Regions from separate parts of the Homo sapiens genome. Here region 2 is linked to region 1. The links are contacts of gene promoters, found by promoter capture Hi-C in blood cells and fetal thymus (Javierre and others, 2016). All regions are on one chromosome and are shown on one strand. The core of a region is centred on a gene start or on the middle of the fragment in contact, and the rest is flanking DNA. Distances in the headings are between cores, read along the strand shown. Region 1 holds the start of RNF26 (ring finger protein 26). Region 2 overlaps BCL9L (BCL9 like).

Region 1 (3,866 bases), core at 743-3,242:
TTTGAACTGCCTCCCCAAAGCCAGTTGGAGTCTTTGTCCCTGCCCAAAGCAGGATTACCTGCTAGGTTTCCTGGGAGTCAAGGGTTGTGGCTCATTAAAGAGGGCTTTGGATTAGTGAGTCTCAAATCACTCAAAGGGGAGGTCTTGGTCCTAAACGAATGGAAATTCTCTCTTAGAGGATCCTGCCAACTCTGAGAAGGACTTTACATGCTTCTTGGTGTGGAAAACTGGCCAGTTAATTGCACGCAGTGCAGGCACAGCACGTTTGCCAAGTTTGACTTTGGACATATTGTGTAGGAAGCACCAGTGGGATACCCATGAACCGTTCATGTCCAGGAAGCAGCTGGAGCCTGAAGTTTGCAGGACAGGTTCAGGCTGAAGACACAAATTCAGAAATCATCGTGTATACAGGAGAGGAGGCTATGATGGAAACAGAAAGAATATAGGAAAGGGTAATGATTCTGAGGCCAAGGGTGGAGGAAGTGGTGTCAAGTGCTGGAGGAAGATTGATTAATAACAACATAGTGTTCACTGGACAAATAAGATCCCTTAAGAGGAGATGGTACGGGCGATGGGATCAACTGTCTTGAAAGGGAGGTGGGCACATTCTCCAAGATTTGACACTGGCGGGAGGATGCGAGTAGGAAAATAAAAACATCAGCAACACATCACAACACAACAAACCATAACCTGGCCAGGGCCTGAGAGCAGGGAGAGAGAAAGGGTAGGAAGAAGCCAGAGGAGTTTCAGCGACTGCAGTCCTTCCTCTGCACTATAGCGTACCCCTACCACGATCCCAAGGCCTCAGTAAAGGTTTGCTGCACACCTCAGCTTCTTATCAGTGATGCTTTGGAGAATGAAGGACTCTGAGGCAGTGTTCAGGGCAGACTGAAGGAGGACGGACACTTTCAGGAGCCCAGGAGTGGAGATGGAGAATTCAACTCAAGTAGGAAATTCAGCAAAGGTGACCAGGGGAAAGATAAGTCCACTAGGAGTCTGCTAAGCATCCTTGGAGTTAGTAGAAAACGCCAGGATTCCCAATATATTTGGGATGGGGTTTCAAATATATTTTGACTATTGTTTGAGTATTAAAGAAAAGGGCAGGGCCGGGCTTGGTGGCTCACGCCTGTAATCTCAGCACTTTGGGAGGCCGAGGCGGGTGGATCACGAGGTTCAGGAGTTCGAGGCCAGCCTGGCCAACATGGTGAAACCTCGTCTCTACTAAAAATACAAAAATTAGCCGGGTGAGGTGGTGGGCACCTGTACTACCCGGGAGGCTGAGGCAGGAGAATCGCTTGAACCCGGGAGGCAGAGGTTGCAGTGAGCCGAGATCGCGCCACTGCACTCTAGGGTAGGAAGGCCCAGGGTAGGAAGCTGAGCGGTTTCTAAATCTGTAGCCCCTTTTTCTCAATGACAATGAAGTAATCTTCCGAGATGTTGAAAAACCTGGTGAGGAAAGTTTGGAATAGCAGTTTGGGAATCCCCTGTAATAATCTGCTTTCCCTTGTGAACAGCAGGCACTGTCTTAAAATTTTTTTGTATCCTCAATGCACTGTAGGAGTTCAATAAATGATAGAATAGATGAATAAATAGAAGAGAATGAGGAGACGGATCTGGGCAGGCTGCGAAGGCGGTGCTATTCCAAAGCCCAGCCCAGAGGCAGTGACCTCCGACCCAAGCCAAAAAAAAAACCTCGCGTTCAGAGGCCGGGAGAAAGAACAGCTCCCAAATTGAGGGGAGTCCAAGACCCTGCTCTTTTAGAGGGTGGGGCTAGGAGAGCGTATTTCGACGCTGCCCGCCAACGAACCAATCCCCGCCTAAAGGGGGAGGGGATTTAATCTGTCGCCTCTCCTTCCCTTTGGAAAGTAAATACGTTCGGGCGCCATTCAAACGGACCAATGAGTGATCGACGTTTTTGTGGTTGGCCTTCACCGATTGGCTGGAGTTTGTCGTCCCTCCCTCCTCGTCACGCCTCTGGCTCCACCCCTTTGCACACAAGATGGCGGCGCCCAGCGGAGTAGGGGCTGCGCTTGGGGTTTGCTGAAGCTGGCTGCCTCTCCCACTCCCCTTTTGGGTGCAAAGCGCCGCTAGCGGGAAGACGGGGGCCGGGCGGGGACAGGGGCACCTGCGTAGCTGGACTGAGAGCCTGCGCCCAGCTTACATCGACCCCACCCGGCCCCGGCCCGACCCGACGCGACCCGATCCGATCCGATCCCATTCCATCCGTTCCTCGTCTCCTCCCGGTCTGACCCGTTGCCCGGCCGTGGTTCGCCACACCAGGCATCCAAAGCTGAGGTCGCTCCTACGGCCTGGGCTCGCCTTCGCTTTAGAGATGTTTGGCCTCTTCCCTCCCAAACAGCCCATCTTCAAAACCTGGACTCTTGGACTGGCACCTGGCCACCTTTCCCTCTACCAAGACTCCACTTCCGTCTTACCCACTTCTTCCTCAGATTCTTGGTACCCCCTGGGTTGGAGACTGCTCATTTTCCTTCCAAATTAATCCCAGACCCCCTAAAATATTGACAACCTTGACAACCCCCCAACCGAGGAGCCAGACTTTGTTTTGGACTAACTTCCATAGCCCTATCATGGAGGCAGTGTACCTGGTAGTGAATGGGTTGGGCCTGGTGCTGGACGTGCTGACCTTGGTGTTGGACCTCAACTTCCTGCTGGTGTCCTCCCTCCTGGCTTCCCTGGCCTGGCTCCTGGCCTTCGTCTACAACCTGCCGCACACGGTACTGACTAGTCTTCTGCACTTGGGCCGCGGAGTCTTGCTTTCATTGCTGGCCTTGATCGAAGCCGTGGTCCGGTTCACATGTGGGGGCTTGCAGGCCTTGTGTACTCTGCTGTATAGCTGCTGCTCTGGCCTAGAGAGCCTAAAGCTCCTGGGGCACCTGGCCTCTCATGGGGCACTGCGGAGCAGGGAGATACTGCACCGGGGCGTCCTCAATGTGGTCTCCAGTGGCCATGCTTTGCTGCGCCAGGCCTGTGACATCTGTGCCATTGCCATGAGCCTGGTGGCTTATGTGATCAACAGCCTGGTCAACATCTGCCTCATCGGCACTCAGAACCTCTTTTCCCTGGTGCTGGCCCTGTGGGATGCAGTGACCGGGCCTCTGTGGAGGATGACGGACGTAGTGGCTGCCTTCCTAGCCCACATTTCCAGCAGTGCTGTGGCCATGGCCATCCTCCTTTGGACACCCTGCCAACTAGCCCTGGAGCTGCTGGCCTCAGCTGCCCGCCTCCTGGCCAGCTTTGTGCTTGTCAATCTCACTGGCTTGGTGTTGCTAGCTTGTGTGCTGGCAGTGACGGTGACTGTGTTGCATCCGGACTTCACCCTGAGGCTGGCTACCCAGGCACTCAGCCAGCTCCATGCCCGGCCATCCTACCACCGTCTTCGAGAGGATGTCATGCGGCTCTCTCGCCTAGCACTGGGCTCAGAGGCCTGGCGCCGAGTCTGGAGCCGCAGTCTGCAGCTGGCGAGTTGGCCAAACCGGGGAGGGGCACCTGGAGCTCCCCAGGGTGACCCTATGAGGGTATTCTCAGTTAGGACCCGGAGACAGGACACTCTTCCTGAAGCGGGGCGCAGATCAGAGGCAGAAGAGGAGGAGGCCAGGACCATCAGAGTGACACCTGTCAGGGGCCGAGAGAGGCTCAATGAGGAGGAGCCTCCAGGTGGGCAAGACCCTTGGAAATTGCTGAAGGAGCAAGAGGAGCGGAAGAAGTGTGTCATCTGCCAGGACCAGAGCAAGACAGTGTTGCTCCTGCCCTGCCGGCATCTGTGCCTGTGCCAGGCCTGCACTGAAATCCTGATGCGCCACCCCGTCTACCACCGCAATTGCCCGCTCTGCCGCCGGGGCATCCTG
Region 2 (3,866 bases), core at 811-3,310, 430 kb before region 1:
TAGTCGCCTTGAGTATGGGATGTTAGCAATTTCTACTTTGTATTTCCCTATGTTTGCCAGGCACAGTGGCTCACTCCTGTAATTCCAGCACTTTGGGAGGCCAAGGCATGAGGATCGCTTGAGACCAGGAGTTCAAGATCAGCCTGGGCAACATGGCAAGACTGTCTCTACAAAAATTAGCCAGGTGTGATACATGCCTGAGCCCCAGCTACTTGGGAGTCTGAGATGGGAGGATCACTTGAGCTCAGGAGTTTGAGGTTGCAGTGAGCTGTGATCACACCACTGCACTCCAGCCTGGGTGTCAGAGAGAGACCCTGTCTCTAAACAATAAATAAATAAAACTCACAAAGTTTCTACAATGGTGCAGTCTGATGTGACATAAGTGAACTGGAGGTGGTGGCTATGGGGGGAGGTGTCTGGTCTGGGAAGCAGTAAAGGCTTCTATCATCAAAGGGTTCAGCCAGAGGCTTGGCGACCACCAGGTTAGTCCCACGGGGGAGAGAGAACTGATACAGGATGGTCTGTGAGGTTCCAGCTAGCTGTAGAGGTTTGGTATTTGACCCTCTACACCCCTGTCACAGACATAGTCTGCTCACTCCATAACATTTGCTGACTCTCTCTCCTCCTCTGTAATTGGCATCATGATAACACTGACCTCACAGGGCTGTTGTAAGGATTAAATAAAACAGAGTAGCAAAGTAGCCAATGTACTCTTTTCTTTCTTCTTTCTATGGTCCCTGCCTTCAAGGAGTTCACAATTTAATAGTCTCTGGCTAGTTTCTTTTTCTTCTTTCTTTACTTCTTTCCTTTCTTTCTCTCTCTCTCTCTTTTTAGAGATGGGGTCTCCCTATGTTGGCCAGGCTGTTCTTGAACTCCTGGGCTCAAGCAATTCTCCGGTTTCAGCTCCCCAAATTCTGGGGATTACAGGTGACAGCCACCACACCCAGCCTCTCTGGCTAGTTTCTTATGTCTCTCTCCTCAAAAAGATGTAAACGTAAACTTTGAGGGAAAAAAAATATGTACAAGCTTCCCAGGGGCAGGGGTTACATCTGGCTCTCCCCCATCACTCATGGAAGGACAAGATATAGGCGAATCCATAAAAGAATCAGAGGAGGAGTGGGCATCCCTCCACACCCACTTCTTGTCCTGGTGACACACCCTGGGTACTTGCCAGGAGTCAATTAGAGGTTAGGGAAGGGCACTAGAGACACGGCCAAGTGGCAACTCACACCCAGGCTTAGCAGGGCTTTGCACAGCAGAGCCAACTGCCCGGCTCCCAGTGTCCCTGGACGCTTCACCGCCCTCCCTCCACTAACCAGTAGGTGGCAGCATAGGCCAGGAATTCACAGGTAGAGGTGCAGGTGACGTGACCAAGAAGGAGGCCACTCCACTCTGCCCCACCTAGGGTCCCTAGGGAGAGGGGGTCACTGAGCACCTGGAAGGCAGAGGCGAGGCAGTTGCAGTGTAGGGAGGGACAGAGTCTGAGAGGTAGGATGGGAGAGAAAAATCCAGGACTCCCAGTCCTCACTTCTTTCCCAGGCTCAGTCCTCTCAAGTCCATCCCCCAGGAACATCACGGGCTACAGCACCCTGGCATCGACAGGCACTCACTGTGGGTGGCCCCAATGGGCTTGTCGTCCTCCTCACTGTCCGGTCCAGAGCACCATTCGTCCCCACTGTACGGCTGCTTCCGCTCCAGCACACAGCGCCGCTTACTCCGCGGCGCCACCTCTGCCCAGGCAGGACGGAGGAAAGAGTGAGTGCCTAGAGGCCCCATTATTCTCCCACACCCAGGGTCCCTCCCAGATCCATTCTCTAAGATGCCCCACCCTAGAGGGCACTGCCCAGGCCATGGTGGGCACTTCGCCAGCCCGTGGCCCCCACCACGCCACCATTTGTTTCTGATTTCTCTCTATAGCCCCATGCCTGTCTCCCCTCCCCCCCAACACCAAGTACAGCATAATCCCCAACCACAACTGGTTCTAATTAGGGCTGGAGGGGAGGGGGAGCTGCTGCTACTCTTCCAGGCCCCAGTGCCTGCTCCCAAAGGGCTCCCACCAGCCGGGATACGGAGGCTCCTGGAAGTGTGTGGGTCTGGGGTCTGCTCCTCACTCCATGGCACCTCCCTCTCCCCTTCTGGAGCTCTGGTGGGAAAGCAGGAGGGGAAGGAGTCCAGAAGTCCGACCACTCTGTGTGGCCCCTCCATGGGTGGCATCATGGCCAACCCCAATCCCGAATGATCTGGTTGGTGGGTGTTGAAAGGTACCCATGCAGAAATACTGGAGAAGAACGTGGGATGAGGACTGGACAAGCAGGGAGCAGAGAGGTGATCTCCCAGAACATCTGAGCCTTGGACTATGGGAGATGCTAGGGTCTTAGGGATGAGGAAATGGGGTACCTTTGGCCTCTGAATCCAGGGATGGGGTCCCAGCCTCTCGCTGCTCTCCAGAGTCCACAGACACACTCCGGTCCCTCTTCACCTTGCCCTTGAGCGAGCTGAAAGGGGGCACCCCTGCCTGGGGGTTCTTCAGACTTGAGTTGCTAGGCGAGATCTGGTTGGCCTTGGCCCCATGGTTCCCCGCCCCCACGCCCTTCGAGCCCACGTTGCAGGTGGGTCCTTGGTTCACATTCTGGTGCTGAGATTGGGCCCCGCCATTCCCTGTCTTGCCATGATTGGTCAATTTATTTTCTGGGTGCATTGGCTTGGCTGGGGCAGGGGGGCAATGACCGCGGGGGGACAGCGGCGGGCTCCCTGGAGCTTCTCTCCTCCTGGGGTGGGGTAACCTGGGAGGAGGTGGGAGAAATGTGAAAAGTTAACCTTGCTAGGGGCTAGGCATGCCTGCAACTTAATTACCCCATCCTGCCTCCCCTAACAATGGGGGAGGGTGGGGGGAAGGGGTGGTATCTCAAGACCACCACCAGCTATTCTCTACCTCCCTCCATGGCTTCCTCAGACAAGGGCTGAAGCCCTCATCCACCTTGGGGAGTGGAGATGGGGAAACCCTCCACCCCCTAGCCTCCACAATTTGAATGGAAACCAGGGCCTAGAGTTGGCAGAATTCACCCACCTCAGCCCCAAAACACCCATCAGCCTGCAAGCTTCTGTGGCAACCCTGTCCTCTGTATCAGACTTAAGCATCCTCTCTTCTAAGATCTGCTGTCTTCAGACTCCTTCCAAGGTCTCAAACCTCAACTCCCATATGTCCCAACACCAGCAGAGAAGGGCCACAGGACCTGGGGTCACTGCACATGCCCGGGTCTCATTCCCCAGGGACAGTGGGAAAACGCACACCAGGGAGTGCTACCCACTGGTCCAGACAGCTGGAGGGGAAGGCCTGAGGAGGGGGGCTTGGCAGGCCAGGCCGGCAGGCAGAAGCAGGAGGAAAGGGGGAGGGGAGCGGTGTGTCAAGCAGATGGGGAGTGTAGCTTGAAGCCAAGGATTCCTGCAGCCTAGGCTGCGGGCCCTTTAAGCTCCAGCCCGCTCCCCCCGCCGCCTCCCCCTCCCCGGAGACCTATTAATAGCCGCTGGAAAGATCACATCACGGGAGAGGATATTTATCCCCCCTCATTCCACACCAGCTCAGATTTATTTCAGCTCTGCTGTCCTGCTGCTGCCGCCTGGCCCTGTCTGCCGGCTTCTCCGGGGAGGGGGGAGGGAGGCAGGCACCGCCCCCTACTCCAGCTCCCACCTCCAGCTAGACTGAGGCCAGAGGCGGCCTTCGGACCCCACAGTAGGGTGGGAGGGGGTCTGCTCAAACCATTTTAAGGAGGGAAGAACTAGAAGGGACCAGAAGCCGCAAGCATAGCTGGCTGCCAGTCCCCTCTGCCCCCCACCCAGGCCCAGGCACTAAGGCTGGCTGCGCCTCC

Evidence for each region. The method cuts DNA at HindIII sites, captures the fragments that hold promoters and counts their contacts. A CHiCAGO score of 5 or more calls a contact.
Region 2: a fragment that was not itself captured here is called in contact with the fragment with the promoter of RNF26 in region 1 in 1 of 17 cell types (neutrophils); the score reaches 5.8 in neutrophils.

Annotation. Positions count from the first base shown.
Region 1 is chr11:119,332,535-119,336,400 of GRCh38, forward strand. It overlaps RNF26 (ring finger protein 26), which reads left to right and starts at 1,993. Exons shown (of 1, transcript NM_032015.5): 1 at 1,993-3,866. The coding sequence starts at 2,589. RefSeq lists an enhancer at 1,635-2,526. The HindIII fragment of the contact is 9,565 bases long and covers 1-3,866 here.
Region 2 is chr11:118,905,873-118,909,738 of GRCh38, forward strand. It overlaps BCL9L (BCL9 like), which reads right to left. Exons shown (of 10, transcript NM_001378213.1): 4 at 2,398-2,783; 5 at 1,611-1,730. Among named protein-coding and RNA genes, the nearest start is that of MIR4492, 2.9 kb to the right of the region's middle. RefSeq lists enhancers at 1,591-1,660, 3,389-3,866. The HindIII fragment of the contact is 2,072 bases long and covers 1,025-3,096 here.